Linked DNA regions of Homo sapiens: region 2 is linked to region 1. Evidence: promoter capture Hi-C in human tissues and cell types (Jung and others, 2019). All regions are on one chromosome and are shown on one strand. The core of a region is centred on a gene start or on the middle of the fragment in contact, and the rest is flanking DNA. Distances in the headings are between cores, read along the strand shown. Region 1 holds the start of MSH4 (mutS homolog 4). Region 2 overlaps AK5 (adenylate kinase 5).

What was found. The method cuts DNA at HindIII sites, captures the fragments that hold promoters and counts their contacts. A contact is called where the count stands out against the background at its distance.
Region 2: a fragment that was not itself captured here is called in contact with the fragment with the promoter of MSH4 in region 1 in 1 of the 25 tissues and cell types used here (hippocampus).

The regions. Positions count from the first base shown.
Region 1 is chr1:75,794,900-75,798,672 of GRCh38, forward strand. MSH4 (mutS homolog 4) reads left to right here and starts at 1,983. Exons shown (of 20, transcript NM_002440.4): 1 at 1,983-2,330. The coding sequence starts at 2,087. It overlaps RABGGTB (Rab geranylgeranyltransferase subunit beta), which reads left to right. Exons shown (of 9, transcript NM_004582.4): 9 at 1-187. The HindIII fragment of the contact is 10,447 bases long and covers 1-3,773 here.
Region 2 is chr1:77,399,773-77,403,488 of GRCh38, forward strand. All of the region lies in intron 6 of AK5 (adenylate kinase 5), which reads left to right. Among named protein-coding and RNA genes, the nearest start is that of AK5, 120 kb to the left of the region's middle. The HindIII fragment of the contact is 6,080 bases long and covers 1-3,716 here.

The DNA of each region.
Region 1 (3,773 bases), core at 733-3,232:
ACTGAGCTAACATAAAATAACTCTAGGTTTCTACTTGATTTTTCCCCCATGTATACCTTTCATCTGTTCTATAGCAAGTTGATGTAAATTGGTTTGTCAACAAGAATGTTAACTGATGAAAGTGGATAGAACCCATACATGAATTAAATGATGCACAAAATAAATGGCTGTTGAAATTTGGAAATGATTGATAGGTTTGAATATGGTTATTCTGAATTGGTCACAGACTTAGGTTAAATGGCAATCTACCATCTTAAAATGGGGTTGTGATTCGGACTGTCCTTTTTTTTTTTTTTTTTTTTTTTTTTTTTAGCATTTTATATATCAGAATTACCCAAAGAAGGAGTTGTCTTCAAATAAGGAAACACTAACGGGTAAGTTGATGGTCACCACAGTATTTTTTTGCACCTGTCTTTTTCTTAAAAAGCTAAAATGGGTACAATCACTCTTTTTTATTTTTTTGTGACAGAATCTCTGTTGCCCAGGCTGGAGCGCAGCAGCACGATCTCAGCTTAACTGCAACCTCCGTCTGCCGGGTTTAAGCAATTCAGCCGCAGCCTCTCGAGTAGCTGGGACTACAGCCGCACACCACCATGCCCGGCTAATTTTTATGTTACTTTAGTACAGACAGGGTTTCACCATGCTGAGGAGCTGGAGACCAGCCTGACCTTGTGATCCACCCACCTCGGCCTCCCAAAGTGCTGGGATTACAGGCGTGAGCCACCACGCCTGGCCTAAAATGAGTACAATCACTCTAGGGGTTTACAGTTTTGGTGAAAGTGAGGTATTCTCTATTTTTAAATTTTATTTTTTAGAGACAGGGTCTTCCTTTCTTCCCCAGGCTGGGGCATAGTAGTGCAATCACAGCTCACTGTAACCTTAAACTCCTGGGCTCAAGCAGTCCTTCCACCTCAGCCTCCTGAGTACCAGGGTCTACAGGTACCTGCCACCATGCCCACTATGCCCAGCTGATTTCTTAATTTTGGGGACAGGCACTGTCTTCCCCAGGCTGGTCTCCGGAGGTGAAGTAATCCTCTGGCCTCAGTCTCCCAAAGTACTGGGATTACAGGGAGGAGCCATCGTGCCCGATCTGAAAATAAGGTTTTTTGATGGAAATTGAGATTTTTCTCAAGTATGTTTGGAATGCCCTGTGCAATAATCATTCCAAGAACAGAGATGTTCTTAAGGACTGTTGTCACTGCATGTGGGTAAACCGCTGTGCATAACTGGTTTATTGAGATACTCAACAGTGGCAGGATTTCAGTAGTGGTGTAAATTAATGTCTTCTAATAGCTTCTGTATGGCAGTATCCAGATAATTTCGTCATGTTTAATCCATGGATCTCTGGTAAGTTGGTACTATTGGCCTTATTTAAGGAATTTTCTAAAGGTCACCACTGCAAAGCTGGAGTTTGAACTTCTAGTGTGCCATTAACTGATTTATATGTTAGAAACCACAGTACTAGAAATTGGTAGATGGGGAATTGTTAACTGAGAGATCTTACCCAGTCAGTCTTTCCCTGTTTCCTACTCTACTATGCACACAGCCATGTGCATACTATCTTTTGATAATATAACTATCTTTCCTATATTTGGTCACAAGATCAACCTTAGGTGGGTTATGCTGTGTGAGCATTACACGTTCTCATTGTGTCAAAGGCACTGGGTGTACTGTGTTGGGTGGTTTCTACATTTAAAGATAAGCTAGTGTGCTTGGACGTGTGGGAAATGCATGTAACATTTGCAATAAGGGAGATTGGGTGCTGTGAGAATAATGGGGCTAACAAATCGGGTGGTCATTGATGGGCCTTGCAGAGTTCTGGTCAGTCTGATACCTGCAGGCTGAGGATGTTCCAGTGAGGTTCATGTGGAAAGTGATGGGTTTGGGAATGGCTGGAAGCAGGGTCATAGACCTGAAGTACGTGAATCCATGTGGAAAGCTGAGCCTGCCTGCGCCTGCGCAGTGCAGCTTAGTGCGTCGGCGCGCAGTTCTCCCGCCCGTTTCAGCGGCGCAGCTTCTGTAGTTGGGCTACTGGAGGGGTCGCTCAGAAACCTCATACTTCTCGGGTCAGGGAAGGTTTGGGAGGATGCTGAGGCCTGAGATCTCATCAACCTCGCCTTCTGCCCCGGCGGTTTCCCCGTCGTCGGGAGAAACCCGCTCACCTCAGGGTCCCCGCTACAATTTCGGACTCCAGGAGACTCCACAGAGCCGCCCTTCGGTCCAGGTGGTCTCTGCATCCACCTGTCCTGGCACGTCAGGAGCTGCGGGCGACCGGAGCAGCAGCAGCAGCAGCCTTCCCTGCCCCGCGCCAAACTCCCGGCCAGCTCAAGGCAAGGAGTGATTGGGTGGAGGAGTCTCCTTGAGGCTAGAGGCCGGCAGTTCATGGAGGCTCGGGGGCACGTGGGTGGTGGTTACCACAGTGAAGTTGTGATTTGGTTGGGGCGTGAGATCTGAGTGCCCTGGGAATTTGGTGAGTCTGGGTGATTAGAAGCCTTGACTTTTCAAATTGGTTCTATTGCAAGACCTTGACTGTGGATGGCTCAGTTCTGAGAAAGGCTGAAGTATCCCATATAACGTCCCTCACAGTGTCTGACAAATGACAGTTTGTGCGTGAGTTTGCTGATAGAAGTTGTGAGCTGATCTTTGGCTGCTGAATTTAATTCTCCAAATCCTGCTAAGGTGGGATAAAATAGATTAAATTGAACATTTCATCTAATTCAGGGAAAATAATATGTTTAGTATTAAAAGAGTGGGCTGGGCGGTGGCTGACGCCTGTAATCCCAGCACTTTGGGAAACCAGGGTGGGCGGATCACTTGAGGCCGGGAGTTCCACACCAGCCTGGCCAACATGGTGAACCTCCCACCCCCATCCCCTATCTCTACTAAAAGTACAAAAATTATCTGGGTGTGGTGGCACGTGACTGTGGTCCCAGCTACTCAGGAGGTTGAGGTGGGAGGATGGCGAGTCCGGGAGGTCGAGGCTGCCGTGAGCTGAGATTGCGCCACTGCATTTCAGCCTGGGTGACACAGTGAGACCCTGACTCAAAACAAACAAACAAAAAAGATGCATGTCCTTCAAATCATTTATTATTTTGTTAGTCTCTATTCATGACAAAGCATCACCATTTTTCACACACGATTGCAACACAATGGTAAAGTAACAAATACCAAATCCAATGGTCATTTTTCAGTTCATCTCATGTGACCTTTCTGCTGTATTTAATGTTCTTAATTTCTTTATTTTTAGAAACAGAGTCTCGCTATGCTGCCCATGCTGGTCTCAAACTCCTGGTCTCAAGTGCTCCTGCCTCGGTCTGCCCAAGCATTGGGATTACAGGCATGAGCCACTGCTGCCTGGCCTATGTTTAATGTTCTTGACTGGTCTTCTCTTAAACTCTTTTAATTTGGCTTCCTTGATTCCACTTGCCCCTGTTTTTCTGCTACCTCCCAGAGAATTGCTGTGCCCACCTTTGTTCCCAAATTATGGGCATGTCATTAAAGCTTTTTTTCCTAGGCCACTTCTACCTAGATGTGACTATCTCCACAGCTCAGATCTCATCTACACTCCAGACTTACTTCAGACTGTCTTCTGAAGTTTTTATTGATGGACTAATGGATACCTCAGGCTGACTATATGATTAATTAAATTCCTCTCTGCACTTTTTTTTTTTTTTTGAGACAGAGTCTTGCTCTGTTGCCCAGGCTGGAGTGCAGTGGCATGGTCATGACTCACTGCAGCCTCAAATTCCTGGGCTCAAGCGATCCTCCCACCT
Region 2 (3,716 bases), core at 18-2,517, 1.6 Mb after region 1:
CCTCAATCCTCTCAGCAAACTAAAAGGCAGGGTTATTTGCAAAGAGGTTTAGAAGGCTGCTGTGGGGTGCAACTAGAGTCAACAATAGACAAAGAGGATTGCTGGGCAGTAGCCAGTTTCCCTGTAGCTTTAAGCTACCAACCCACACAGACCCATAGGAGTTGGGAAGTCATCTGCCTCTTGCAGTCAACTTTGCCTGCCCTTGCTCCTTCTGATTTCCTGGCCAGTCTGCAGGAAGGTTCTTCTGCCAACAACCACAGCCACCCAGCAAGGTACATGCATCATGCAGAGAAACAGAATCACCTACTAAGGTCCCCAAATGGGGAAGAAGATAAAGAATATTTCAGTATATTGCATCTGGACCTGGCTTGGCACAGTTTCTGAGGATTCTTGGGGGTCCATCCTAAGACTACTTCCAAAAGCCCTGCTTTGTTCTGCAAGTGCCCAGCTAAGATCTGATCCTGCCAGCCTTGGCATCTGCATCTGTCTGATGCAGACAGATGTGGATTTGGATCCTGGCTCTGCAATGTAGTTACACAACCTGGACAAGTTATTTAATCTCTTTGAGGCTCAGTTTTTGAATCTTTAAAATGGAGATAATGTTTTATAATGTTATTGTAGGAATCGAATAAATCCATATAAAATCCAAGTGATAAATTAAAATTGATAAAAAATGTATAAAGAAAACCTCTAATGCAGTGTGTGGCACATAGTAGTTGTTCAGTAAATGGCGTTACCTGGTGCTCCTGTTGTTGAGTGCTGATGAAGATTCCAAAAAATATTCTCTGAGCTAATGTCGTAGGAATAATCAAAGTTATCTTAAGTTAACCTTCTCTGCTAGGTTTCTATAGCAGAATAAATCAAAGTCACTATTACAGTGTTAAGCTTCATGTTCAAGGAGAAGTTTTTCATAAAACAGTTCATAAATATCACAACAATTTTCTCTAGTATCTCTTTATTGTGTTGACTTTTTCCCCACAAAGTTCTCTGGGTGCTGCCTATATCCAGTGAAATAAAGATTCTGTACAGAAGGCTTAGAAAATAAGTGTTTTACTCAGATATACACAGCCTTCAAGTGTTCTGTACTCATCCCTTTGCATACCAATCATGTCTGTTTTTAGATCTGTCTTCTTTCATGATTTGTCCTTCTTTCATTCTGTTAAAAAAAAAAAAAAAAAAAAAAGTATGTTCCGCCAAGCTTGGTTCAGCAGGGCTGTACCACAGGAATTCTCATCAAAACATGGGACTGACTCTACTTTCTCAGAGAATTGTTCCCACCCATCTCACTCACCACGTCCACTTAGGTGTTTCTCTTTCAAATTTTGTAGTTAATTATGAGGCTTTAGAAATATGGTTCTGCAAAGTAGTCTCAATGGTTGTTACTCCATTGCTGATAACTTCACTCCAGGAGCCATGAGTTTTTAAAGTTTATTACTCTTTTAGTGCAATCTTCAATTTTTAGTTGAAGAAAAACAAAGTCACTGCAAAGAGAACACCAATCAATCAATCTTTTGGAGGGACATCTCCAAACATATAAAAGAAATTTTGAAGGGCCAGTTATTTGCATGTTGAAGGAGCTTCAGTAACAAACAAGAAATGCCATTGGTGGAGAGCCTGCTTAATTGAAATCTCTTGCATGAATCAAGGGAGAAGTAAAAATTTCAAGAAGCTCATTTGGTTCTTAGAGAATGACACTTATGGGATATATAACACTGAAACAAAACAGCCAATTGATTTCCCCATCAAGAAGGAGAGGAAAAAAATGGGAGACAGACCTAAGTTTAATCAAAAGCAGAATCGCAGAGGAAAGATTGAACTGGTACCATCCCTTTTCAGTCCATTTAGGGTGTCTCATAGACATAACATTGCTCATTATGTGGCAAGCCCTATCTCTATTGCAGTTTGAAAATCAGAGCCAAAAGAAAATAAAAACAAAAACTCATTTCCGCCATTAAAAATGCAAACCATGATTATAGTTTTCTCCTCAGATGGTGCATAATTCTCCTCCCTCTGCTATAATTCCCTTTCCTAATCTAGATATATTTTGTAGACTTTTGAAAGTTGTTACTGCATTTGTTATTCAAATTAAAACATGTGTTGTGAATGAACTAGGGAATTTGGTGAGCATTTCATTTTGAAATTTCCAATTGACCTCTCTAGCCCTCTTATATTAAATGACATAAAACAGATTATGCAGACCACATCCTCTGCAAATTCTGTCCTTAGGAATAAGAAAAGGATTTTCTTAAGATTCCTAGACATTAAATAACAATTACCTAAAACATAGCATCCATCTAATCACAGAATTTCAGAGCTGTGAGCAACTTTAGACATCATCTGGTCTATTGTCCTGCAATTATATCTCCCTGGATCCTTTTCTGACCCATGAAATGTAAATAAATTTTTATTCCTAGAAACTCATCACTCTACCTATGCTACCGCTGCAGCACTATCACTCCTGCTACCCTTTGTATTTTGAAGTTAACATCCAAGGTTCTTGTAGCTGAAAACTTTTTCATTATTATTATTATTATTATTGTACTTTAAGTTTTAGGGTACATGTGCACAACGTGCAGGTTTGTTACATATGTATACATGTGCCATGCTGGTGCGCTGCACCCATTAACTCATCATTTAGCATTAGGTATATCTCCTAATGCTATCCCTCCCCCCTCCCCCCACCCCACAACAGTCCCCGGTGTGTGATGTTCCCCTTCCTGTGTCCATGTGTTCTCATTGTTCAATTCCCACCTATGAGTGAGAACATGCGGTGTTTGGTTTTCTGTCCTTGCGATAGTTTGCTGAGAATGATGATTTCCAGCTTCATCCATGTCCCTACAAAGGACACGAACTCATCATTTTTTATGGCTGCATAGTATTCCATGGTGTATATGTGCCACATTTTCTTAATCCAGTCTATCATTGTTGGACATTTGGGTTGGTTCCAAGTCTTTGCTATTGTGAATAGTGCCGCAATAAACATACGTGTGCATGTGTCTTTATAGCAGCATGATTTATAGTCCTTTGTGTATATACCCAGTAATGGGATGGCTGGGTCAAATGGTATTTCTAGTTCTAGATCCCTGAGGAATCGCCACACTGTCTTCCACAATGGTTGAGCTAGTTTACAGTCCCACCAACACTGTAAAAGTGTTCCTATTTCTCCACATCCTCTCCAGCACCTGTTGTTTCCTGACTTTTTAATGATTGCCATTCTAACTGGTGTGAGATGGTATCTCATTGTGGTTTTGATTTTCATTTCTCTGATGGCCAGTGATGATGAGCATTTTTTCATGTGTTTTTTGGCTGCATAAATGTCTTCTTCTGAGAAGTGTCTGTTCATATCCTTCGCCCACTTTTTGATGGGGTTGTTTGTTTTTTTCTTGTAAATTTGTTTGAGTTCATTGTAGATTCTGGATATTAGCCCTTTGTCAGATGAGTAGGTTGCAAAAATGTTCTCCCATTCTGTAGGTTGCCTGTTCACTCTGATGGTAGTTTCTTTTTCTGTGCAGAAGCTCTTTAGTTTAATTAGATCCCATTTGTCAATTTTGGCTTTTGTTGCCATTGCTTTTGGTGTTTTAGTCATGAAGTCCTTGCCCATGCCTATGTCCTGAATCGTATTGCCTAGGTTTTCTTCTAGGGTTTTTATGGTTTTAGGTCTAACATTTAAGTCTTTAATCCATCTTGAATTAATTTTTGTATAAGGTGTAAGGAAG